Linked DNA regions of Homo sapiens: regions 2, 3, 4, 5, 6 and 7 are each linked to region 1. The links are contacts of gene promoters, found by promoter capture Hi-C in blood cells and fetal thymus (Javierre and others, 2016). All regions are on one chromosome and are shown on one strand. Each heading gives the region's core, a stretch centred on a gene start or on the middle of the fragment in contact. The rest is flanking DNA. Distances are from core to core; before and after follow the strand shown. Region 1 holds the start of PHLDA1 (pleckstrin homology like domain family A member 1). Region 2 overlaps LOC105369844 (a long non-coding RNA gene). Region 3 overlaps LOC105369844 (a long non-coding RNA gene). Region 4 overlaps OSBPL8 (oxysterol binding protein like 8). Region 5 overlaps LOC105369844 (a long non-coding RNA gene). Region 6 overlaps OSBPL8 (oxysterol binding protein like 8). Region 7 overlaps LOC105369844 (a long non-coding RNA gene).

Evidence for each region. The method cuts DNA at HindIII sites, captures the fragments that hold promoters and counts their contacts. A CHiCAGO score of 5 or more calls a contact.
Region 2: a contact is called between a fragment that was not itself captured here and the fragment with the promoter of PHLDA1 in region 1, in 10 of 17 cell types (M2 macrophages, M0 macrophages, M1 macrophages and 7 more). The highest score is 22.1, in M2 macrophages.
Region 3: a contact is called between a fragment that was not itself captured here and the fragment with the promoter of PHLDA1 in region 1, in 8 of 17 cell types (M2 macrophages, M0 macrophages, M1 macrophages and 5 more). The highest score is 15.5, in M2 macrophages.
Region 4: a fragment that was not itself captured here is called in contact with the fragment with the promoter of PHLDA1 in region 1 in 3 of 17 cell types (M2 macrophages, M1 macrophages and endothelial precursors); the score reaches 6.1 in M2 macrophages.
Region 5: a fragment that was not itself captured here is called in contact with the fragment with the promoter of PHLDA1 in region 1 in 16 of 17 cell types (M2 macrophages, M0 macrophages, M1 macrophages and 13 more); the score reaches 54.0 in M2 macrophages.
Region 6: a contact is called between a fragment that was not itself captured here and the fragment with the promoter of PHLDA1 in region 1, in 1 of 17 cell types (endothelial precursors). The highest score is 6.1, in endothelial precursors.
Region 7: a fragment that was not itself captured here is called in contact with the fragment with the promoter of PHLDA1 in region 1 in 3 of 17 cell types (M2 macrophages, M0 macrophages and M1 macrophages); the score reaches 9.8 in M2 macrophages.

What each region holds. Positions count from the first base shown.
Region 1 is chr12:76,030,526-76,034,086 of GRCh38, forward strand. PHLDA1 (pleckstrin homology like domain family A member 1) reads right to left here and starts at 1,251. Exons shown (of 2, transcript NM_007350.3): 1 at 1-1,251. The coding sequence starts at 1,216. The coding sequence ends at 11. It overlaps PHLDA1-AS1 (PHLDA1 antisense RNA 1), which reads left to right. Exons shown (of 2, transcript NR_186034.1): 1 at 1-69; 2 at 386-853. It overlaps PHLDA1-DT (PHLDA1 divergent transcript), which reads left to right and starts at 1,288. Exons shown (of 2, transcript NR_185978.1): 1 at 1,288-2,277; 2 at 2,739-3,561. RefSeq lists a silencer at 787-936 and an enhancer at 1,157-1,406. The HindIII fragment of the contact is 8,299 bases long and covers 1-3,561 here.
Region 2 is chr12:75,579,973-75,583,633 of GRCh38, forward strand. All of the region lies in intron 9 of LOC105369844 (a long non-coding RNA gene), which reads right to left. Among named protein-coding and RNA genes, the nearest start is that of KRR1, 70 kb to the left of the region's middle. The HindIII fragment of the contact is 6,909 bases long and covers 1-3,661 here.
Region 3 is chr12:75,597,233-75,600,879 of GRCh38, forward strand. The region is part of intron 9 of LOC105369844 (a long non-coding RNA gene); the gene reads right to left. It also overlaps the pseudogene PGDP2. Among named protein-coding and RNA genes, the nearest start is that of KRR1, 87 kb to the left of the region's middle. The HindIII fragment of the contact is 1,913 bases long and covers 721-2,633 here.
Region 4 is chr12:76,369,589-76,373,223 of GRCh38, forward strand. OSBPL8 (oxysterol binding protein like 8) reads right to left here. Exons shown (of 24, transcript NM_020841.5): 19 at 1,860-1,996; 20 at 49-234. Among named protein-coding and RNA genes, the nearest start is that of BBS10, 23 kb to the left of the region's middle. The HindIII fragment of the contact is 2,592 bases long and covers 1,047-3,635 here.
Region 5 is chr12:75,529,775-75,533,566 of GRCh38, forward strand. LOC105369844 (a long non-coding RNA gene) reads right to left here. Exons shown (of 16, transcript XR_007063375.1): 13 at 3,020-3,073; 14 at 1,845-1,989. Among named protein-coding and RNA genes, the nearest start is that of KRR1, 20 kb to the left of the region's middle. The HindIII fragment of the contact is 6,873 bases long and covers 1-3,792 here.
Region 6 is chr12:76,468,166-76,471,808 of GRCh38, forward strand. The region is part of intron 2 of OSBPL8 (oxysterol binding protein like 8); the gene reads right to left. Among named protein-coding and RNA genes, the nearest start is that of OSBPL8, 90 kb to the right of the region's middle. RefSeq lists an enhancer at 3,484-3,563. The HindIII fragment of the contact is 1,323 bases long and covers 1,404-2,726 here.
Region 7 is chr12:75,680,105-75,683,778 of GRCh38, forward strand. The region is part of intron 6 of LOC105369844 (a long non-coding RNA gene); the gene reads right to left. Among named protein-coding and RNA genes, the nearest start is that of KRR1, 170 kb to the left of the region's middle. The HindIII fragment of the contact is 2,420 bases long and covers 636-3,055 here.

The DNA.
Region 1 (3,561 bases), core at 1-2,500:
GCTGCCCCTTTCAGGCAGAGTTGGAGGTGCTGCGGAGAAGCCGGTGCCCGTGCGGCTGCGAGTGCGGCTGTGGGTGTGGGTGCGGTATTTGGTGCGGATGCGGGTGCGGGTGAGGGTGTGGGTGCGAGTGAGGATGAGAGTGTGGATGTGGATGTGGATGCGGATACGGGTGGAGCTGCTGGGGCTGAGGCTTGGGTTGGGGCTGAGGCTGGGGTTGTGATTGGGGCTGGGGTTGCGGCTGAGGCTGAGGCTGGGGTTGGGGCTGGAGCTGCGGCTGCGGCTGCGGCTGCGAGGGGGGCTGCTGCTGGACCAGGTGCTGCTGCTTCTGCCGCGTGGATTTGACCGCCAGGATGGCCTGACGATTCTTGTACTGCACCATCTGCAGCGTGATCTCGGCGTTCCAGCCCTGGTCTTGCGGGCACCGAAAGTCGATCTCCTTGCCCTCTGCCATCACCACAGTGAAGTACATGTACTTGCCCTTGCGCTCCACACAGTCCACGGTCTTCATGTTGGAGAAGTGCAGTTCCTTGAGCTTGACCGGCGGCTCGAGGCTGGCGACAGCGGGGCCACTGGGTTGGGACGGCTCGGCCGGCCCCTGCCCGGGCTGTTGTTGCTGCTGCTGCTGCTGCTGTTGCTGCTGCTGCTGCTGGTGTTGCAGCTGCTTGGGCGGGATAAGCAGCAGCCCTTCCTCGGTGAGGATGCAACACTTTTTCTTCCAGAGCTGCAACAACCCGTCGCTGCGCTTCTCCAGCACGCCCTCCTTCAGCGCTTTGCAGCCGCTACTCTCCAGCATCCTCCCAGCATAAGAGGGGCCGCCGCTTGGCTCGGCCTCTCCGTTTCCAGCCGCGCGGGCCGGGGGCAGCAGCAGCAGCCTCGCGCCGTCCTCGCCCCAGCGGCTCCCACGGCCGCCTGCCCGGAGCGCGCAGAGGAGGCTAACACGCAGGAGGCAGAGCGGCGGCGGCGGCTCTGGGTCCCGGCAGAGGGACAGCCGCGTCCTGATGCGCCACAAGGTCCCGGAGCTCCGAGCTGCCGGGCCTCTGCCGTCCTCTTGCGAGCGCTCACTGAAGGGCACTGGCCGGGCCCCCTCGCGGCGCTTTTGAATGGGCCATCTTCCCCACCCCCGAGTGACACCCAGCGGAAAAGGCGGCTCCTGGCGCCCGCACCGCGGGGGAAAGCCCAGCTCCAAGAGGCGCTCGGCAGCCGGCGCACGCCTCATTAACTTGGGGCCTTTCCAAAGCCCGCTGCGTCCACGCCCTCCAGCGTCTCTTGCTCCGCCTCTCGCCGCCCACTTGCTTCCGCGCTCGTTCCCCTGGAAGGCGACCCGGACCCGAGCCCCGGAAACTCCTCTCCTCTACCCAGGGCGATCGCCCAAGGAGCCCTGGCTGCCTGACTACTGCCGACGCTCACAGGGCGCTGCGAGGCCATCCCCCGCGTCCCGCTTCTCCCCGGCCCGCGGGACTCTCTGCTAACAGCCTCAGAAAGTGAGGACGGGGGCGCGGAGGCGGGGGCAGCCTCCAGGCAGTGCTGCCTCTCGGTTCTTGGGAATTAGCCCGGGGGATTCGCGCTGGGCTCCGAGAGCCCGCAGAACCAGCGTCGTGTCCTGGGCGAGCTGGGAGGCCGGGGCCGAGTCCCGCGAGTCCCGCGAGTGTGCCTCCCCCGGACGCCTAGGTAAACAACTGAGCGCACAGAGGCCGAGAGGACATCGTGTCTTCCCACGCATATTCGCTCACGGTCACTAAGTAGCTCTTCTTGGAAAGAGGGCGATTGTTAAAGCAATAGTGCGACTGTCGGGCTTGCCACGGGTGGAGAGAGGCGGACCCACGTCAGGTCGCATCTCGCCTGCTTTTCTCGACCCCGACCGCAGGCGCTAACCCGTCTTCGGCTTTCTTCTTGACCCGTACGGTTTGCAACGTCTCTTAAAACAGTAACTCAACTCTCTACAAACCGGGGTAATATCCGGTGCTGAGATCCCACACTGCAAGGCGCAGTTCCAAACGTCTGGTCGGCCTCGCAGGTCCCTCTTTCCAAGGCCTAGCCAGATCTTGGTTTTGGAATCTCATTTATCTGTGACCTGGGGAATGCAATACCCCCAGCTCCCTCCTACTCCTACATTTAAACAATGCCTATAGAAGCCGCTTCCTGGGAAGTAAGGCATAACCGAGACCTAGCCTCCCGGTAGGGAAGTTCATCCGTTTAGTAAACAGCCCCAACTACGTGCGGACCCTCACGGGGATACGAAGAATTCAACCAGGGCTGGACAAGTCAGAGTGGGCCAAGGTAAGAGTTACGGCTGCTACTGTGCCCACGTTGGAACAGATAGATTAGTTCATCTGCTAGTTGTGTGGCAAGAGCAAAGAATTCAAGAGGGGAAGAGAAAGTGAGAGGAGCTTAGAGAGCTAAGCAAGAATCGAATCCTTTGTGTGTCATGGTAAGAAATTCGAACTTAATACCAAGGTAGTCAGAACAAAGGACAACTTTTATACACGAGGGCGTCCTGAATATTCATCTAAGAAACAATGTCTGATCAAACGGGACAATCCAGCCAGCAATCCTGAGTCCCACCGGATTATGCTTGGCCAGCTTTCTAGCCTTCACATTGTTAATTTATTAGCAATCTTTTCAGGAGAAAGGCAATTATTAAAATTATGTGGACTTCTAGTAAAATTATCTCGAAGATTTACAATTATGTATACCAATAACAAAAAAACTACATGTTTTCTGCTCCCCTGCCTTTGTAGGACAAGTGAGCATTCCAGAGAATTTCTACATGACCAGCTGTTCATTCTTTTAAGAGGATGACATTCTTCAGCTCATCTGGAAAGGATACTTCCTTTAAGTCTGTTATTCACAGTCTCCAAGGGCAGGTGTAGTTGGGAAAGACATTTCATATGGAAAAACAAACTTGATAGGGTAAAAAAAAAAAAAATGAGATGTAATCTGGAGGCCCAAGTCATTTTCTTAGGAGAAACTCAAATGTGTTTGGTGTTATCTAACCTTCTGCAGTTTATCAGTCTGAAACAAATGCATTCTATTCTCATTTGAAAATGTCTGAACAGCCACCAATTTTCAAAATCACCCATTTAACTAGAGACTTTAAAGCCCAGAATTTGCAGTTACGTATTTCAGAATGATTTAGTAATTTTGTGAGCAGCTCAGAGGTTAAGTCTACAATGTCTGACTACGGTGCATTATTGAAAATATCAGTAGTGTAAGGATCCCGTAGATTGGTGATAACTTTGCTCTTGTTATTTCAACAGTTACCACCAACAGTTGGTGACTTAACAAATTAAGAGCATAGTTGCCATATGCTCATATTTGGCAAATATGTCAAAATGGCCATATTTGCCAATTTTTAAGACAATAAATTCACAGAAAATGCATTACAGAAAATAACTTAAAAAAAAAAAAAACAACTTTTGGGCCAGGCATGGTGGTTCACACCTGTAATACCAACACTCTAGGAGGCTGAGGTGAGAGGATCCCTTGAGCCCAGGAGTTTGAAACCAACCTGGGCTACATGGCAAGGCCTCCCTCTACAAATGTAAAAAAAAAATTAGCCAG
Region 2 (3,661 bases), core at 553-3,052, 450 kb before region 1:
TAGAGGTTACAGATGGGTGAGTGTGACCTTGGGAAATCACTCAACGTTTCTGGTTCTCAGCATTCTTTCCTTTATGATGAGAGAATTAAGCGCAGTGTCTCTGAGATCCCTTCCAAATGTAACATCCCTGATAGCAAAGGTTCATCCCTGAGGACATCCTCATCCACTGCATTTTATTCTCTCATCATAGAGGAGAGAATGCTGAGAACCATCCTCAATGGCATCGCCTTCACAAGTCTTTCCTGACCCCTATCCTGATCAAACTGAATCCCATCTTTCAACTTCTAAATGCTTAATTCTCACCTATGTTCCTGTCTTACTTTATCCTATACTGTCGTCAAGCTAGCTGTGCCTTACTCCATCACACTGCCTTCTCCCTCAAGTCGTGGGTTGCTGAAAGCAGTAATAATCTTTGCAACTCCCTCAAAGGTCTAGTAGAGTGTGTTATAGCTAGCACAGGCAGTACACACTGGACAAATTAATGAATGAACTGAAAAAGCATAATATCATAATGATTCTGTCCTGGAAGAAATAAAAACCAAAAATGCTACTGAACAAATCAGATAATTATAGAAATTTGAACTGGGCGTGGTGGCTCACATCTGTAATCTCAACACTTTGGGAGGCTGAGGTGGGCAGATCACTTGAGGTCAGGAATTTGAGACCAACCTGGCCAATATTGGAAAACCCCGTGTCTACTAAAAATACAAAAATTATCCGGGTATGGTGGCTTATGCCTATAATCCCAGCTGTCTGGGTTGCTGAGGCACAAGGATCACTTGAACCCATGAGGCGGAAGTTGCAGTGAGCTGAGATGGTGCCACTGCACTCCAGCCTGGGCAACAGAGTGAGACTCTGTCTGGAAAAAAAAAAAAAAAGAAAGAAAAGAAAAGAAAAAGAAAAAAAAAAAGAAATTTGAGCCATAGCCACCATTATGAATTTTAGTCACCATGGAAAGTGACTCCAGAAAATAAATGTAATATACAATTTAAACATAATAGCAACATATGGTATGTTTAATATGTAAATACAGAAGCCTATATAGAAGAAGAGGCCATGTTACAGAATGATCAGGAGTGTAGACTATAGAGATTGTACTTGATGCCTGGCTTTCATCATGACTCCGATACTTTGTATGAGCTAGGGGAAGTTATGTGACTTTCTATCTCAAATTTATCATTTGTAACATGGAAGTATCTAGTTCTTAGAGTTACTATGTGAAAAAAATGAATGTCTGGCACATGTTGAGTATCTGGCACATATTAAGTGCTTAAGAGATGGCACATATTAAGTGCCATTATTTTATATTCAGTACTAAAATATTTTAGTATGCTTGTTCTTTAGCCCACAAAATGGTAGTAATAATGAAAGTTTTCTCCTAGAACCACTGTGAGATTTTTCAGTGCTTATGGCTATTGAATACATTCTGGTTATATTATTGGATTCATACAAAAATATCTTAACTTAAAAATAGCTAAAAAGCGCTGAGGCATTTTAAAGGTGACCTGGATTCTTGCTCGTCTCAAGCCACTTTATTTTTCCAGGTTGAGAATCATGTAGTATTGGCTTTTTAAAAAACTAGCAAAATATATATTTATCTTCTAACTAATGGATGTACAGCAGACAGAAAGTTAATGAGTATTGTCTTAGTCTATTTGGGCTGCTATAATAAAAAATGTCATAGACCAGATGGCTTAAACAACAGACACTTATTTTTCACAGTTCAGGAGGCTGGAAAGTTCAAGATCGAGGCACGGGCAGACTGGGTGTCTGGTAAGGGCCTGCTTCCTGGTTTGTAGACACAGCTGTCTTCTTGCTGTGTCTTCACATGGTGGAATGGGTGAAGAAGCTCTTTGAAGTCTCTTTTATAATGACACTGATGCCATTCAATGAGGCTCCCCACCGTGAACTCCCAAAGGCCTCACCCACAAATGCCATTAGGTTGGGGATTAAGTTGCAACATATAAATTTGGGGGAAACACAAGCATTCAGTTTATAGCAAGTATGAATACTTTCTGAAAGTTTCTGAAAGAAAATTCTACCATATTCTTACTTCAGCAACACTTTCACTTTTGAGCCAACCAAACCATTTTCCAAAATCTGTCATGTAATGTTAATTCTGTGAGGTTGAAGTTAGTGATTAGGGCATCAGCTTTGTGATCAGACAGAAAGGAGGTCACATCCTGGCTCCACCACTTTCTAGGCACATGAAATTGAACATGTTACTTCACCTTTCTAACCTCAGCTTTTCCATCTATGATACAAGAATAATAACAGCTTCCTTACTCACAGGTTATCGTAAGGATTAAGAAAGATCACATAGATGGCATGATTGTGTGGCAGAGAATAAACGATCAATACACGGTATAGCTATTATTATTTCTGATGAAATACACTTGCCATTATGTCTGCAAAATGGTCAATTTTAAGTCCATTTCAGAATACTGCATTTCATAAAGAAGTTCCAGGTTTTCACAATACCAACTGATTGAACAATCAGAGGAAATTTTTTGTGAAAGGCAAAATTTTGCTTGAGCAGTAAGTAGTCTTTTTCACAAGATTTTACATATACTGGAATAGTAATATTATCACAATGAGTCTCAATATCATCTCTCTTGTTGATGAAAGACTGACAGTTCACATAATTGTTGCCTTAAATATGGACTTATACGTTCAGAGTAACAGGGAAAAGAATGTGCTATTCTGTCAAGGATATGAGGGTGTTCTTGAAGCAAGTGTATCTTCAACATCTTGTCCAGCTGAAGGAATATAAACTTTGACAGCATCTCCAGCTGACAGCATCTAGAATTGAAGGGGCTGCTTCAGGGTTGGCACAGGTATTTACATCACCCTCTTCTGCACCCCAGCCCCTCGCCTCTTTTTTGGCTTCTCACTCCACTGATAACTGCAGGATCAAGCCTGGGAAAGCACATGAAAAATTCACCAACGCAGAACAATGCAATCATACAACAAGGTGACATTTTAGGTAACTTAAACTATAAGAAGTGCCTCCCGAGAAACAGGAAATTATATCCAAAGTAGTTTGAGGGAAAAAATAGTTTCAGGCTGGAGTGCAGTATCGTAATCTCAGCTCACTGCAACCTCTGCCTCCTAGATTCAAGAGATTCTCCTGTCTCAGCCTCCCCAGTAGCTGAGATTACAGGAAAAAATAGTTTTATAAGATTTTTTTTGGAGGTAGCTTCATGATTTAACATCATAAAGTGCCATGGTAAAAAAAAAAAATTGCAGATTTAGTAATGAGCAGAGAAACAGCCTCTTGAGTGATGCTCTAATTCACGACATGCCACTGACAATTCACTGAGCTGTGTATGCATATCTTTTCATTTCTGCACCGAAGTTATGCTCAGGAGTCTAAAAGCTGTTTTAAAATGCCAGGCTTCGAGGTGCTGTTCTCCTAAGACATGGCAGACCTATAATTTCTTCACATATTTACATAAATGGCTCCTGTGAATGGGGGAAGTCTTTATGTGGCTAACATTATAAACTTCTATTATGAAACAACTCATTACCCATTATCAGCCCCTGTCACCCAGTCTATGTATAGAGAAGGAGAGGAGAGAGAAATGTCATTAAACAAAAATGAAATTGCTGAAAAAAATGGAGCAGGAGACATTTGCCTAACTCTATAAATCAAAGGTAG
Region 3 (3,647 bases), core at 427-2,926, 430 kb before region 1:
CAAATTTGTAATTTTACTTCTGGTAATTAAATGATATACCACTGGGAGGTAGTTTGTCTCATAAGCCGGCTGGGACCTTTCAACTAATAGACATTTGATGCTGCGGGTGCCTTTTTGATGCTTACATTGTCTATACCAACTTCTGCTATCTTAGAAAATTCTCCACTTATTCTCCCAAATTTTCTGCAGCCTTTCAATATGTCACCTGAACTAAAACAGATAACCTTCCTAATGCAAAATAACTTAAAGATTGCACCATAAAATCTATTTTAGAAAAAGTTTTCAGTGACAGGGATATGCATTTCATTAAAACTTTACCAGAATGTGATGTTATTAATGTAGGCTCTTAATTGAGGTGACAATTGGATGATCAATAGCCTGACACCTGTTAAATTTGTGTATGTTTAGTCATTGACAACTACTTATCAACTTACCTTCTCCCTGGTGGCAGCAAATTTCATTTGACATTGATTGTAAGATACATTCAGATTTTTCAAATAATCAAATATAGGGAAGGTTATTTTATGTGGGGGGATAATGAGTAATTAGTGGGTATGATGTACATTATCCAGGTGATGGATATCCTAAAGCTTTGAATTAACCACTACACAATCTATGCATGTAACAAAATTGCATTTGTACTTCATTCATTATACAAATTTTTTAAAAAGTTATTTTACAATGGAAACAGGAATTCTCCTAGTTAAGATTTTAAGCCTAAGCTTTACTTTGCTAATCAGTGTGCTTTTCAAGAATATTTAAATGATTAGTTAGATTCATCTGAACAGGGGAAACAGTGTCTTAAATAGAATTTTGAAAAAAGAATAAATTTTACTATTGTATGAAAGAAATAGTACAGCTTCTGAATTAATGGAGCGTCTATTTACATCTCACATGGTAGTACCCATAATTAGCATGTTCTTAGTAAATGTGTTTGTTTCCTAAACAAAAACGTATAAGCTAATTCAATAATTAAGGCTTAACTTCCTTTTCCTCAACAAACCATGGAATTAGTCAAAAGATACAGAAGGAGGTTTATCAGACAGAAAGCTACAGGATTAAGTGTGTAAACCAAATTAATACCAGAAATTGTTTAGCTCTGTTTAATTTCAGGAGGGCATGTTCCACAGTGATAACTTTAGAGCATATTCAAGAATTGATTGTTTCTATTAATAAGATATGCCAATGCCTGTTTTATTTGGTAGGTTAAGAACCATCTGATGAGTTATTCTTATCCCATACAGATAGTACAAAGAATAGAAGAAGGGAATGCAAAACTTTCTTTATAATTCATCTTATAACTAATCTCATAATGAGTATTTATTAATCATATTTTATATATATATATATATTTTTTTTTTTTTTTGAGACAGTGTCTCAATCTTTTGCCCAGGCTACAGTGCAGTGGCGTGATCTCAACTCACTGGAACCTCCACCTCCCAGGTTCAAACAATTCTCCTGCCTCAGCCTCCTGAGTAGCTGCAATTACAGGTGAGTGTCACCACACCCAGCTAATTTTTGTATTTTTAGTAGAGACAGGGTTTCACCTTGTTGGCCAGGCTGGTCTCAAACTCCTGACCTCAAGTGATCCGCCTGCCTCAGCCTCCCAAAGTGCTGGGATTACAGGCATGAGCAACTGCGCCCAGCCATATATATTTAATAATATATTATTTATTATAAGTAATAAATAAAAATATTATAGTACTTATCAATAATCTTATAAATAATCTTACAGTAATCTGTTCATCTTATAAATAATCATTACCTACCCACCAAAGTTCTCCGATAAGTGTTATTTGAAGACTTAGGTAGACAGAAAAGCAAAAAGTAGTGGAGCTAAAGACTATTAAGTAACTTGCATCTTCATCCCATTAGAACCACTCCCTATCCACCGAAAAACATTTAGTCTGATTTATGGTCAAGTTGCAAGAAGGCAGCAAAGCCTCTGCAACGCAGAAGGCCAGCAACATCAAGAAGTTCTCTCTATTGTTTTCTCCCATTGAATCTGGCCTCTGAAGTGTTATGCCAAAGTAAGCATGGGATTTAGTCAAGGGAAAATCTCCTGGGATTCATTTCTTGGACTTGGAAAGTCTTATAGTGCATCTGCCTTATAGTGGCTGGGTTATGGAGCAGTGCCATGGCAACCAAGGTACAACTGCAGCTTCAGTCTCGCTGGCAGCATTGAGCAGTCATGGAACATAGGGACATCCCCCTAACAATTGCCATAGTCTAAATGTAGTGATATGAAGGCCACATAATGGTGGCAAAAACTGGAATAAAAAGGAATAAACAAATGGGGACAAAATTACAAAGAAGACTAACCAGAACTAGGAGAAGAGAAAGAGAAGGCAAAATCAAAAGCTATTTCCCTTTTGAAACCTATGAGACTGTGAATATAGCATTGCCATTAATAGCAATAGGAAAGTCATAAAGATAAATGTTTTGGGTCTCAAAAGATAGGTGAGGTTTGCAGTTTACTAAATTCGAAGGGCCAATCCATTTGGAAGTGTGAAGTTGGCTTGTCGGAGAATAGAAAAAAAAACTACTCAAGGGAGGATTTGGGAATTGGCATAAAGATGTCACTGAAACTGAAGAAGTACATGTGTTTTTCATGGGACAAAGTACACAGATTAAGCTTCTGTAGATGGCTAAGGATAAAAGTTTCAAAAATATTTCTATTTAGCAGAAGGTGGAGGAAAAAGAGGCATCTAAAAAGACAAAATTCTGGCAGCTGGTATATCCTTCACTTGCCTGTGAGCCGTGAGCCCTCCACACTTTGCCCACTCCAGTTCTACTCTGTCCGATGCTTCCACCATGGCCCAAGCTGGCATTGCACTGATTGGACTGGCTGTCATGGGCCAGAACTTAATATTGTGCATGAATGACCATGGCTTCATGGCCTGTGCTTTTAATAGTACAGTCTCCAAAGTTGATGATTTCTTGGCAACAAGGCAAAGGGAACCAAAGATGTTGATGTTCAGTCCTTGACGGAGATGGTCTCCAAACTGAAAAAGCCACAGGCGTATCATCCCTCTTGTGAAGGCTGGTCAAGCTGTTGATGATTTCATGAAAAAATTAGTACCATTGTTGCACACTGGTGATGTCATCATTGATGGAGGAAATTCTGAATATAGGGATGACACAAGACGATGTAGATACCACAAGGCCAAGAAAATTTTATCAGTGGAGAGCAAAGTTAGTGCTGGAGGAAAAGGATCCCAGTATGGCCTATCACTCATGCCAAGAGGGAACAAAAGCTGGCCCCTATCAAGGCAATCTTCTAAGGCATCACTGCAAAAGAAAGAACTGAGGAACTTTTCTCTGACTGGGTGGGAGAGGAGGGAGCAGGCCACGTTGTAAAGATGGTGTACAATGGGATACAGTATGGGGATATGCAGCTGATCTGTGGGGCTTACCACCTGATGAAACATGTGCTGGGCATGGAGCAAAACAAGATGGCACAGGATTTTAAGGATTGGAATAAGACAGAGCTCGACTCATTCTTGAATGAAATCAAAACAAGATGACGGAGGCCTTTGAGGACTAGAATAAGACAGAGCTCGATCCATTCTTGATTGAAATCACAGCCAATATTCTAAGATACTGATAGCAAATACCTGCTGCCAAAGATCAGGGACAGCACAGGA
Region 4 (3,635 bases), core at 1,093-3,592, 340 kb after region 1:
AAACCATGCTAATACATTGTTTGAAATAAACTATTTTAAGTTACTTACTCTGCAAACTTGTAATGCCATTCTCCTGTGAGTGGATCAAGTTCAAATAATTTGCAAGACCACTCTTCATTTTTTGTTTTCCGATCCCTGGCAGCTTGTCTTTGAGCTTCTTCCAAAACATACTTCTCTTGGGTAGCTTCAGTTTGGTCTTTGGCATTTATGGCTCGAGTTACCCGTTGCCAGAGTCTAATACATGTGCGAAAATATTAAAAGTATTAAAAATGTAACAGAAAATAAAATCTATATAGAATAGGCCTCAAATCCCTTGTAGAGAAAATAATGCTCACATGAATTTCTGGCTTTGACAACACTTATGCTCATAGGCTTAGAAATGAGTCAAGATATAAATCCAGTCCCTTGAGTAGAGAGAGACCTGTTCATAAGTGGAGACTAATTTTTTTTACTTGGCAAGAGAAACTTACTACATAGACTCTTAAACTCATGATAGTAAGTGTTGAAGTGTTGCTGGCTCAAGATGATAGGATGTAATGAAGGTAAAGCTCAGGAATCTACGCTTTTAGCAAGCTTCCTAGATGCGTCTTACACTGTTTAAGATTCACTGGCTTCATAAAGATCCATTAATGTAATGCAGTGCTTCTGAAGTTTGGATCCATGAATTATCAGAGAATTTTTATAATCAGAATCTCTGGGGTCAGGCGCAAGTATTGATATATTTTTTAAATGTTTCCCCAAAATATTTTAATGTATTGCTAGTGTTGAGAACCACTGGTTTAACAGAAAAGACTACTGAGGTAAAATGATTTCCCCTACTAGTTCTTTCTTCTGTTAAATAAAAGTATATCTATATCCTACCCATCTAGAAAGGCAGCATGTTAAAACCAGAAAAGGCTTTGGGATCAGATAGACATGAGTCAAGTCCTAGAGCTGCCACTTCTTAGCTGGTGCACTTAAAGTTATTTATCCTAAGTCTCATTTCCTCATCTTCAAATATGCTGAATTATATACTCTCACAAATTATCATATGTATGCCTTGGCAAAGCTTATCTCTGGAAAAAGAACATCAAATGGTTATGGCTGAGACAGAATTTTTAGAACTGGTACATATACATTCTTCCATCTTTGACAACCTCAAATTTGAGTGTAGAAGGGAAGGTACACAGACTTGAATTCCCATGACAGAGAATGATATGTATGTGCAAACATGTAGGGAGGACAAAGTTGCATAATAAGTACTAAGTGCCTAGCAAAATATCTCTTATACATAAGTCTCTTTCTCTTAACACAAAGATATAACAACAATAAAATAGGGAATGTGTATACAATATTTCTGATTCAAAAATATAAGCCATCTAGCAAGAAGTTCATGACTTAAGAACAGAAATGATAGCCTTAGTTATTACCCAACTAATAAATCCTATAGAAGCCAGTCCATCCAGTAACTTTACTTTTGTATCAGAGAATGGAACAGAAGTAGATTCTGCACCACTCCCTTTACCTAGAGTTCTAATGCTTAAATCAGGTTAGAAAACTGTTGCCAGGTAGAAACTAAGAGTCATTAATTAGTCCTGTAATCTTATTTAAACAAAAACGTTCTTTCTTTCTTTTTTTTTAAGGTGCTGGAACAATTGAGAAAGAAAAAAATGAGTAGTTTTGAGCTACAGAAAAGCAAGACGATTTATATTATATTTGACATTCATATACACAAAAACAGAATACTGTCACTTCCACAAATGATAAACTATTTTGCTGAATTAAGATATGACAGAAGGTGACAAAATGACCATATCATTAAGGAATTGAAAAACTACTCTCTGATCCTCATGAAGTTAGCTGTAAAACAGTATACTTACTTCTCTGATTCAAAATCTCCCTGTTCTTCAAATTTTACAGTGTGCCTTATTAATCTCCATTGCTTAATGTCAGGTGTTGGATTCCAGAAAACCTCTGAATTATCAGTCTTTTTATCAGTAATAAAAACTTCACTATCCTATATTTAAAAAAATTCAAAATTAATGTAAAGAATTATACTTAGAAGGCAATTATATAGTATAGTAATATGACGGTGATAATTTCTTCTGGTTAATCCTCCAGTTAAAAGCATTTTTAAAACAAATATAACTAGCACTTTTCCAAAAACTCCAAGTTTCTTATCATTTTTATAAAAACATTAAGATTGACTACGTAATACTAGTTAATTAAAAAGAATTTGGTTGAATATCCAGTTTGTGAAATTTCATAAGTTTTACTTAATAAATTTCAAACATTACATGCAAAGCCTCAATAACCATCTCCAAACTGTCCAAGTAGAGCATAGTATTTGTTGCAGCTACAATGAGATGCTGTTGACTATCCATGGATTCAATATACTCAAACATACACACACACACATCCCTCTGAAAGAGCCTTTACTAGCATTAAAAATTTGAGGTCTATCTCTATCGAATAATCTTTCTATCTAAGACATGGACGGTCTTGCTCTCTTGTGTAGGCTGGAGTGCAGCGGTGCTATCTACCTTATCTATCTAATCTATTTTACCTATCTAATTTATCTACCTGTTTAACCATCCTTCTCCTTCTCTCTCTCTCTGTCATCTCTCACTCTCATCTCTATCTTATCTATCTGTCTGAGACAGGGTCTTGCTTTCTCACCCAGGCTGGAGGGCAGTAGCACAATCATGGCTCACTGCAGCTTCCACCTCCCAGGCTCAAGCAATCTTCCTGCCTTAGCTTCCTGAGTAGCTGGGACAGGCATGTGCCATCATGCCCATCTAATTTTTTTATTTTTATGTTTAGTAGAGAAGAGGTCTTGTTATGTCACCCAGGCTGATCTCAAACTCCTGAGCTTCCCAAAGTGCTGGAATTATAGGTGTGAGCCACCCCACCCAGACAGAAATTTCATTTTTTAAAAATGACTGCTGCTTTATCTTTTTTCCAGAAGACTCTCAGATTTAAGGCAATTAAAAAAAATTTTCAGAGTGTATGTGGCCACTTAACAAAGTCCCTAACTTCACTTTCTCATATTTCTCAACATTTTCTGCTTACTGCATGCAGAAAGGAGCATATACTCAGTGCTCATAGTATGGTATATCCATGCAGTACCATGATTCTTTTTATTCATTTAAGCGTCTCTTAACAAAATTACATAAATATGAATTTAGGTTAGCAGAGAAGTAAATAAAAGCCATTGCTCTCACACACCACTATATCCTTTCCATGTTCCACTGAAAGGAATATAACTCTAATTGGAACTATGCCTCTTTCTTCTATGTGAGTAGAGTGCTGTGCATAAAAGCACAGTCCTGGGGCCAGGGTTCCTGGGCTTTAATTCTTGTTCCACTACCTACTTTGAGCAAATTATGTGAACTCTCTGTGCCTCAGTGTCCTCTTCTGTAAAATGGGGACAATAATAAACAATAATAAAATGGGCATGGCACCTATATACTCACCTCATAGCGTTATATGTTATAAATATTAAATCAGTTAATATGAGTAACATTCTTAAATAATGCAGTAAGTCATATATAAGTGTTAGCTATTTCTACTGATTTTAAGTTTTGGAAATAAAATATTACACAAAATTAACTACTGTTGATAACAGAACACCACCAAAATATCTGCTATTAAGA
Region 5 (3,792 bases), core at 225-2,724, 500 kb before region 1:
AATTTCAGTTGGTGATAATGCAATTAATCTGGGGAAGGGTAATGTGATAGCATTATCAGAGTCTTTCTAAGGGTTCCCCACAATGCATTAGCAATAAACTAACAAACAGAAAAAAATAAAGAAAATGTTCATCCCGAGATTGTAATACAGTTTAATTATCTGTAACCTAATTAGCAGTTTCTGGGTATGAGTAAACACAATTCATGGTGTGGGCAGGGCTTTCCCATTTTGTGCTTTGAGTCTTAGCTTTGTTAACACTGAAACTGATCTGGTGGGGTAGATTTTTTTCCCCTACCTTATTAGCTTTTTAGGGAAGTAAAAATGGAATGTGCTAGCATTGGTGGTACAGGTACTTTGCTGGTCCACATGCAGTCTATTAACACCATTCCTAAGACACAGCCATTGATGTACTCAAAGAAAATGAGTTTGATGGGCACCTTGGTTGATTCAATGCCTTCACTATTGTGAATAGCACTCTGATGAACATATGAGTGCATATGTCTTTTTGGTAGAACAATTTATTTTCCTTTGACTAATGGAATTGCTGGCTCAAATGGCAGTTCTAAGTTCTTTGAGAAATCTCTGAACTGCTTTCCGTAGTGACTGAACTAATTCACATTGCCACCAGCAGTGTATAAGTGTCCCCTTTTCTCCATAGCCTCACCAGCATCATTTGTTTTTTGACTTTTTAATAATAGCCAGCTGAGGCCAGGTGCGATGGTTCACGTTTGTAATCCCAGGACTTTGGGAGGCCAAGGCAGGCAGATCACTTGAGGCCAGGAGTTCAAGACCAGCCTGGCAAACATGGCGAAACCCTGTCTCTACAGAAAAAAATACAAAAAAAATTAGCCAGGCCTGGTGGTGGGCACCTGTAATCCCAGCTACTCGGGAGGCTGAGGCAGGAGAGTCGCTTGGAGCTGGGAGGGAGAGGTTGCAGTGAGTGGAGATCGCACCATTGCACTCCAGCCTGGGTGACAAGAGTGAAACTCCATCTCAAAATAATAATAATAATAATAATGATAATAGCCAGTCTGACTGATATGAGATAGTATCTCATTGTGGCCTTGATTTGCATTTCTCTGATGATTAGTGATGTTGAGCATTTTTTCATATGTTTGTTGGCCACTTGTATATCTTCTTTTGAGAAGTGTCTCTTCATGCCTTTTGCCCACTTTTGAATGGGGTTATTTGTTTTTGCTTGTTAAATTGTTTAAGTTCCTCATAGATTCTGGATATTAGACCTTTATGAACATTTTATCCCATTCTGTAGGTTGTGTGTTTACTCCGTTCATAGTTTCTTTTGCTGTACAGAAGCTCTTTAGTTTAATTAGGTCTCACTTGTCAATTTTTGTTTTAGTTGCAAGGGTAGATAGGTTAATGAAATGTGGTACATACATGCCATGGAATACTATGCAGTCATAAAACAGAACAAAATTTTGTCCTTGGCAGCAACACAGATGCAGCTGGGGGCCATTACCCCAAGCATATTAATGAAGGAAAAGAAAACCAAATACCACATGTTCTCACTTACAGTAGGAGCTAAACATTGGGTACTAATGGACATAAAGATGGCAACAATGGACACTCGAGACTACTAGAAAGGGGAGGGCAAAAGGGTTGAAAAACTTAACTACTGGGTACTATTTTCAGTACCTAGGTGATGGGATCAATAATATCCCAAATCTCTGCATCACAAAATATACCCAGCTAACAAACCTGTAGATGTAGCTCCTGAATCTAAAATAGAAGTTGAAGTTATTTCTTCAAATGAAAATAAGTTTGAATTAAGAGAATCAAGGAACTAGATATTTTACAGTCCTACATTTCTGGAAGGCTTCACTTACTTAATTTCTTCTGAAGAAAGGGCATTTTTCATAAGAGAATTAGAAAGACCACTCTTCTTTTGCATACATAGCATGGTTCTCTGTGATATCCCATGAATGTTCTGTTGAGACCCTTCCACATTCTTTTGAAATTAGCAATGATTTCCTTGAAAGAGGAAATTCTGTCTTAATTTCTTCGTTTATTTATCCTCTCACACAATATCCTGCCCATAGTACATGCTTAATAAATATTTGTTAAATAAGTGAATGTCAGATTAAGAGACCAGTGTCTACATTTGAAACCCAGCTCTGCAACCTACTAGCAGTGTGATCTTGGTCAAGTTACTTAATTACTCTCAACCACTACATTGTTACTTTAAAATTAATATTAAGTTTCCGAAATGGTGACTCTTGATAAATTAGAATAGACACATAGCCATTGACAGCTAATGCTGGCAACACTGTGTGTGTGTGTGTGTGTGTGTGTGTGTGTGTGTGTATAATGTATACATATATACATGTATATGTATATATATTAGTTATATTTGTATTATGTATTTTAATTAATTTCAATCATTTGTAGGCATACATATATGTGTATGTACATATGTATGTATATATATGCACATGTGTATATATGCCTACAGATGTGTATATATACGCCTACATATATATACATGTATATACACACACGTGTATATATATGTGTGTATATATATATATATATATATACACACATATATATGTACACACACACACATATATATATGTGCCTGCAAATGCAATCCTTCCCTCATAGAGGTTATTTGCCTTTAGATAAAATCTGGGAAAAGTGAAGATCATTACTGCTAGAATTCAATTTGAATATATTTTTACTTAAATACTGACTTTTTAAACTTTGCTTTCTTCTAAGACAAATTTCTTAGTTGGCCAACAATAACTGGCAATGTCTAAGCATCTATGATAACTTATCAAGAGTCACCACTTTGAAAACTTAATAATATTAGTTTTAAAATAATTATGTGGTGGTTGAAGTTTATTAGTGGAAATGAGGCAGGAGGACAGAGGAAAGAAACAGCAAACTTGATGTATTTTATGACCTAAAGGTCTAATGCCAGAAGAGCTAATCTTACAATGCCTGTTCATGAAAAACTCATTGAAAAGTCCCATGATATTAATAAGTTAAATGTCCTTACCTACAATGAATCCCAGTAGAAATTTTACAATAAATTTGTCTTCAGTGAAAGGTACTAGGGTAGAGAAAGGAAAAAAATCACATAAATTAAGAGTTTTTGCCATTTTTTATGTTTGTCACATATTTGTGGACTAAGTAGATGAGGAATTATTGATATAGAATTCAACAAAATTCAATGAGATATAATTTTAATTATAATTATAATTTTAGAGCATAAGATTTATTTGGCAAAATGGGAACATATAGTGGTTGGGATGCACCAGTGTTTAAAAATGAATAATAATAAGATAATATTTTGGTTAGGACAATCAGCTTAACATCAAAAGCCATTTGTTTAGACTGTAATTTAACAGAAAATATAATGCTAATATTCAGTTTATATAATAATCCCTTTAAGTGGTAGAAATTATAGCCTTTAAGAGTCAAACCTCTTCTTTTTTAACTTCTAGGGAGAGCCTTATCTGCTCTCAAAAGGTCTTAAATAACCATCTGATCTTTCTAAATCTATATCAGTCCTAATTCTAGGGTGTCTCGTCCTTCAGCGAACATAAAAGTTTATAAATAGATTTAGAAATAGCAACAACAAGTGATTCCTCCTTCTAAAATGCATTGTTACCTTGGATAACAAATAACTGAAAGATTTCCAACTACTTGCATTCCTTTCTGACCAGGCAATCTGAGGGCATGCTCTAGCCCCCAGCCATCCAAATAGCAACTCTATTTGGAATAAAATTAGATAGAAAATTATCACTGTAACCTTGCAAACACTGAGAC
Region 6 (3,643 bases), core at 815-3,314, 440 kb after region 1:
TAATTTACCAACTTAATTTTCTAGGCAGTCACTCTGGCCTCATTTCTCCTCCACTAAAGAACATCTGGTGGCACCCTATTCTTTTAAAAATAAACCCCAAACACTGATAGTTAAAATATTTTACAATTTGGCCCAATTATCCATCCCACAGAAATAATGATTTTCTATGAGATGGTCTCACATCTCCACTTAACTCAAACTCCACTTAGCTAAAATTCTGTCTAGTAAAACTGATTGCTTAAAGTGATCTGTAATTTTCTCCCTACTTTGTTTCTGCTTTCCTACTCAATAGCTTGAAATTTTTATATGTATTTTCTGTCTTTCTCCACTCAAATGTTAGCTCCACTGGAGTGGGAATTTTGTCTATTTTGTTCACTGCAATATCTCTTAAAACTAGAACAGAGCTTTGCGCCATAGCAGACACTCAACAAACCCCTCACCTTGAGAGCTCAAATTGCCAATTCTGCTACCTATGTTCAAGCTAAAGTTATCGTTCTCCAACTCTGACTTTCTAATGTGAATTCTTTGATAATTCATAATTATCTCACAGTATTGTCTCTCTTGCCATACAAATAAATAAATAATTCAATTGTTATTTAACTTTTCTCCACCATTATAATGGTCTAGTACAGTGCTGTCAAATAGAACTTTCTACGACGATAGAAATAGTGTGTATCTGTAATGTCCAACAGGGTAGCTACTACCTACATGTAGCTATTGAAATCTTGAAATGTGGCTAGTAAAACTAAGGAAGAACTTTTAATTTAATTAGGTTAACTTTAAATTAGTCACATGTGGGAAGTGGCTATACTATCAGACAACTCAGGTCTAGCACAATCTTACCTTTCCCTAGCTCACCTAACACTGACCACACCTCTAGCATTTGCCACTGCTGACCACTCCTTTTCTGAAAACTCTGTCCTCTCTTAGTTTCCAACCTATTTTCTCTTTCTCCTCCCTCTCTCTGCATCCTAGAATCTCTTATTTCCATTCAACATGATTTCCCCATGTGATTCCATTGACTTGATTTTTTAAAGAGCTCAGTTCACTAACTCCCCAAATCAGTTTCCTACCTTAACCACTCCTGAGCTGCAGACCCTCAAGGCCATTCCAATGATTCTCCTGGTGAATTCATTCTTCTTATATAAAGCATGACATCCTTGATAAGGGATTTCCTGACCTCCCACTGCAGGCATAACAAATAGATATTCCATCTGTCTTGTCACTGCATCTTTCTATTATCAGGTCGGATTGCAGGGGAGAGCCCACAGAGCTCCATGTGTTCCTAGCAACACTGACTCTGTACCTCCACCTTCCTGAGTAGGAGGAAAGACCCTTCACTCACCCTTTCCCACAACCCCAAACGCTTACAGACTAACCACCGTCTGCCCAACAGATATGCAAGCTTTACACTCAGTTCTTATTTTTTGCCTAGAAAACTTCCTTTAGGATTCTGCTCAAAAGCTACTTCATCACAATACTTCCATAATATTCCCAAAACAGCAATCATCCCCTATTTTGTTACTCTCTATCCTTCTTACCCTGCTTTATTTTTCGTCACAGCAATCATCTCGTAACACAGTTCATATTTATATATTTTTTCTTTCTCTACTGAAATGTTAGCTCCACTGAAGTGGGAATTTTGTCTATTTTGTTCACTGCTATATTCCTTAAAACTAGAACAGAGCCTGGCACCATTGTGGACACTCAGCAAATACTGAATGAATAAAGACAAGAAAAGAAAAAAAAAAGGCTTAGTGATTATAACCCTAATACCTAGCAAAGTCTTTGGCCATCTGATAAGCCCAAATTCCATCACTAAGAATTCCCTCATTCTTTTCCTTAAATAGTTCTGTCCTGCATAAAATAACATTGTTACAGATTCACTATCAGTTTTTGGTAATGAAACATGAATTACATTTCTTCTGGCACTGGTGGTCTCTTGCCATGATTAATCCAACCTCCTTTATCAAGGTCTTCACATACAAGAGAAGCTCAAAATTAACCAATATGATTTTCACTTGTAACTAATGGCATGCATCTGGTGAGACTGCTGGCGGACTCTGTGGTTAGGAAACCAGAAAAACTTTACTGCCCACTAAAAGAATTAAAGCTATAACCTTGAGCTTTGACTTCATTAACATTTTCCTCTAAATCTGGCCTAACGAGCCACAGTTGCCTGAAAAGGTTATGAAATAGCACAACCGAAACCATATTATCACATCATAATCATGCCAGGTGATATGAGAACTGGTTATATGAGACAGCATATACATGAACATTTCAGTGTCTGATGCTTCATCTTACGACCTGTTTCACGCATTTCAATTGTCAATCTGAAATAAAAGCATCTTACTTGAAATTTCATTTTGGCCAATTCTTTGCATGCTTATATAGAGATATGTGAGCCTACATTCTAGATTAAATCATGACTGAGATCTAAATTAAGACATAAGAGCTGCAAAAAAATACCTTCATTCCTTCTAGATTTCTATTCCATTTCTAACAAATCACTGATTAGTATATCACACTGCACAGCATCAAGCCACAGGCAAGACTGCTAATAATAACATGGAAACGTCAACCCCCATGACTCATCAATCTACCACACATAAGAATGCAGTTAGCAACTGTTCCTCATGTCTCTGCAACTACATGGTGCTCAAATGTCAAAATATTCAGCCTAGATAGAAAAGTCAAAATTATTAATAGTTACAGGAAAATAAAGCTTTGGATTAAATAAAACAGATCACGTATCACATATTTTTCAATGTATACCAAAAATTATATTAGGTAATGAATATAAAAACTAATGAATATAACAACTTTAAAAAGATGCTTAAAAGTCTAGGTGTAATATAGATGAGTTTATAACCCAAAAAAAAGCCCTCTCTTTCAATAAGAATAAGAGAATTAGAATATTTACATTTAGATCCTAGTGCTGCCCACTGTCTGGCTAACTGACTTTATGCAAATTACCCTTTCAGAGCCTCGGTTTCTTCATCTCTTAAAAACAGAGTAACATCTACCTTACAGTATTATAGAAAGGATTAAATGAGAAACTGTATGGGACACCAAGCCTCTGTACACCTCCACTTGGATACACATCTCAAACTCAGTATGTCCAAAACCGACTTCATCTTCCCTTTCTCTGCCCCTGCTCTTCTTCCTATATTTTCTCCCTTAAGGAATGGTACCTCCCACCAAATCACACAACACAGAAACCTGTAAGTCGCTCTAAATTTCTCCTTCACTTTTATTTTCCTCATCTATATTCTCCTCCACTCCTAATATTAAGTCCAGGACAAGGTCCTAAAGCTCTACGTAGTCTCTCATATTTACCCTTTATTTCTCATATCCACAGTTACTGCTACTACCTGCCACCTGAATTTCTTACACTTAAGCAATTTATCTTCCATACCGATATCATAGAGAGCCTTCTAAAGTTGTTCAACAACATGGTTGAGTCACTTCAATGATTCTGCACTCCCACAGCCTACCAAAATTGGAGAGAAAAACATTTAACCCCATCTTCAAGGCTCTTCACAATTTTGTCAATCTTATGTCATGCATTCCTCCAAACACCCATCAATCCTACACTTCACAAATGTGACAAACTGAAAATGACTTTCACTTCTTCAAA
Region 7 (3,674 bases), core at 596-3,095, 350 kb before region 1:
AAAGGTGGTATAGGTGCTGCCCTTGAGCAATTGAATGCTTGTCACACAGGAAAGAGAATCCTTATTCTATGCTATCCAAAGAGAAGGACTAAGGTCAAAAGGGAGGACTTAAAGGGAGATAGGATGCCCCAATGTAAGCATGAGCAGGAAGTTGAGCTATTCAGCAGAATTCACTATTTAAGAAGTGATACACTCCAGCCACTAATTATGTTCAAACCGGTTGCAAAAAATTTTAAATTATAGTTAAAATGCAAGTCCAGGCCAGGCGTGGTGGCACACAACTGTCATCCCAACACTTTGGGAGGCCAAGGTGGGTGGATCACCTGAGGTCAGGATTTCAAGACCAGCCTGGCCAAAATGGTGAAACCATGTCGCTACCAAAAATACAAAAACATTATCCAGGTGTAGTGGCATACACCTGTAGTCACAGCTACTCAGGAGGCTGAGGCAGGAGAATCACTTGAACCCAGGAGGCAGAGGTTGCAGTGAGCCAAGATCATGCCATTGCACTGCAGCCTGGGTGACAAGAGCGAAGCTCCATCTTAAAAAAAAAAAAAAAGAAAAAGAAAAAATGCAAGCCCACACATTTCTACGGTACTTAATGAAAAGTTGTCACAGGACCTTAAGAACGCAAAAGCTTGGTTTAGCCATTACTTTTTGTTTTTGTTTTTTTAAAAGGAAGGTGTTTTGTGAATATTTATATGTTATTTATAAAATGTAAGTTATAGCTATATCTATGCTATATCTTGTCATTAAAATTTGGGTATTTATCTAAATATATTTCCTAAAAAGGGCAAAGAGCTTTCTCAAGAATTTTTTGATGTAACAGTTCTAAAGACTACCGATGTGTAACTTTGAGATGACGAATGTCTATTATAAGACGTTATATTTGTTGGAATTAGTTGAAAATTCTGAGTGTTCTAGAACAGAGGCCTCAGAAATAACACCACACATCTACAACCATCTGATCTTTGACAAACCTGACAAAAACAAGCAATGGGGAAAAGATTCCCTATTTAATAAATGGTGTTGGGAAAACTGACTAGCCATATGAAGAAAACTGAAACCAAACCCCTTCCTCACACCTTATACAAAAATTAACTCAAGATGGATTAAAGACATAAACGTAAGACCTAAAACCATAAAAGCCCTAGAAGAAAACCTAGGCAATACCATTCAGGATATAGGCATGGGCAAAGACTTCATGACTAAAACACCAAAAGCAACGACAACAGAAGTCATAATTTACAAATGGGATCTAATTAAACTAAAGAGCTTCTGCACAGCAAAAGAAACTATCATCAGAGTGAGCAGGCAACCTACAGAATATGAGAAAATTTTTGCAATCTTTCCATCTGACAAAGGGCTAATATCTAGAATCTACAAAGAACTTAAACAAATTTACAAGAAAAAAACAAACAACCCCATCAAAAACTGGGCGAAGGATATGAGCAGACACTTCTCAAAAGAAGACATTTATGCGGCCAACAAACGTATGAAAAAAACCTCATCATCACTGGTCATTAGATAAATGCAAATCAAAACCACAATGAGATAACATCTCATGCCAGTTAGAATGGTGATCATTAAAAAGTCAGGAAATAGCAGATGCTGGAGAGGATGTGGAGAAATAGGAATGCTTTTACACTGTTGGTGGGAGTGTAAATTAGTTCAACCATTGTGGAAGACAGTGTGGCAATTCCTCAAGGATCTAGAACCAGAAATACCATTTGATGCAGCAATCCCATTACTGGGTACATACCCAAAGGATTATAAACCGTTCTACTGTAAAGAAACATGCACATATATGTTTATTGCAGCATGGTTCACAATAGCAAAGACTTGGAACCAACCCAAATGCCCATCAATGATAGACTGCATAAAGAAAACATGGCACATATACACCATGGAATACTATGCAGCCATAAAAAAGGATGAGTTCATGTCCTTTGCAGGGACATGGATGAAGCTGGAAACCAACATTCTCAGCAGACTAACACAGGAACAGAAAACCAAACACCACATGTTCTCACTCATAAGTGGGAGTTGAACAATGAGAACACATGGACACAGGGAGAGGAACATCACACACTGGGGCCTGTCTGGGGGTTGGGGGCTAGGGGAGGGATAGCATCAGGATAAATACCTAATGTAGATGACGGGTGATGGGTTCAGCAAACCACCATGGCACGTGTATGCCTATCTAACAAACCTGCACGTTCTGCACATGTACCCCAGAACTTAAAATATAATAATAAAAAAAAAGTGTGGTCCCAGCTGCTCAGGAGGCTGAGGCAGGAGAATGGTGTGAACCCAGGAGGCAGAGCTTGCAGTGAGCTGAGATCACACCACTGCACTCCAGCCTGGGCGACAGAGCGAGACGCCATTTCAAAAAAAAAAAAGGAAAGAAAATTCTGTGTGTTCTAATAAAGTTGTAAATTATGTTTACATAGGAGGCAAAGTTTGCTGATCAATCCTATGGAAATTAGTCCAATTTAAGACACCACTGACATAACTCAACCTCTATAAAGTACTAAGTAAATTCTCTTAGAATTAGAAATATATCTAAAAGCATTCTTTCTTGTAAATATTATTTTGCAAGACAAATATGACTTTAACAGATTAATTATAAGAGGCAATGCCTAAATCTTTTTTTTTTCCAAAACATTTTTTCACACTTTTGCCAGGAATTCATTTTCTCCCTTTTCTATTTATCCGAGTACCACTTATCCAAGGCCCTATGCAAGCCTCTTTACCATGAAGCCTTCCCAGATTGTCTCAGCCTCTTTTAAGTTTACACCATAGTCCTGCCTGCACTACTCTATGCTACACAGTTCTTACCATAGGATTCCTAAGTATTCTTTATCCTTGTGTATATTTCTGTTTAACTATGTTGGCTTATCCCTGTTCTAGCACAGTGACTTGCATTAAAAGGCCATGGTAAATGCTAATTACTTGATTGAGAAAAGTTGGAAAATCCATAGATGGGAGAACTGGCCAGACCAGGGAGAATTTCTATCCCAGGTATTCTTTGCTATGTAACAAATTACCCAAAAGCTTAGTGGCTTCAAACAAGAATTTATTATGTTCAAGGATTTATTGGGAATTGGAAAGGAGACATTAGGGCTGGCTTCTCTCTGCCATGAGGTCTGGGGTCTCAGATGAGAAGACTAATCATCAATGGCTGGAGCTGGAATTATCTGAAGACTTACTCATATCTGGTGTTTGAGAGGAAAAGGCTCAAAGGTTAAGACTGCCAAGCGGAGCACCCATCTGTGGCTTCTCTGTGTGGGTTGGCTTCTTCATAACATGGCAGCCCCAGGGGAATCAGACAGGACTCCCAGAAGGAGTATTTCAGTGCAACAAATGAAAGCATTTTTGGACCTGGCCTCTGAAGTCGCATAGTGTCACTTCTACCATACTCTATTGGTTGAAGTAGTCACAAGCCTACCCAGTTTCAAAGGGGAGAAAACATAAACCCCACCTCCTCATGGAAGGAGTGGCAAGGTCACATTATCACATAGCATGTGGGATAGGAACTATTGTAGCAGCCATCTTTGGAAAGTACAACCTGCAATGTTTAAATTCTTTGGAAAATGCAATTTCTAACCCAAGTCTAGGCTTTAACAGACTACAGTTTTGGACATGTTCAGTCTGTGACCAAATGTTCTGGA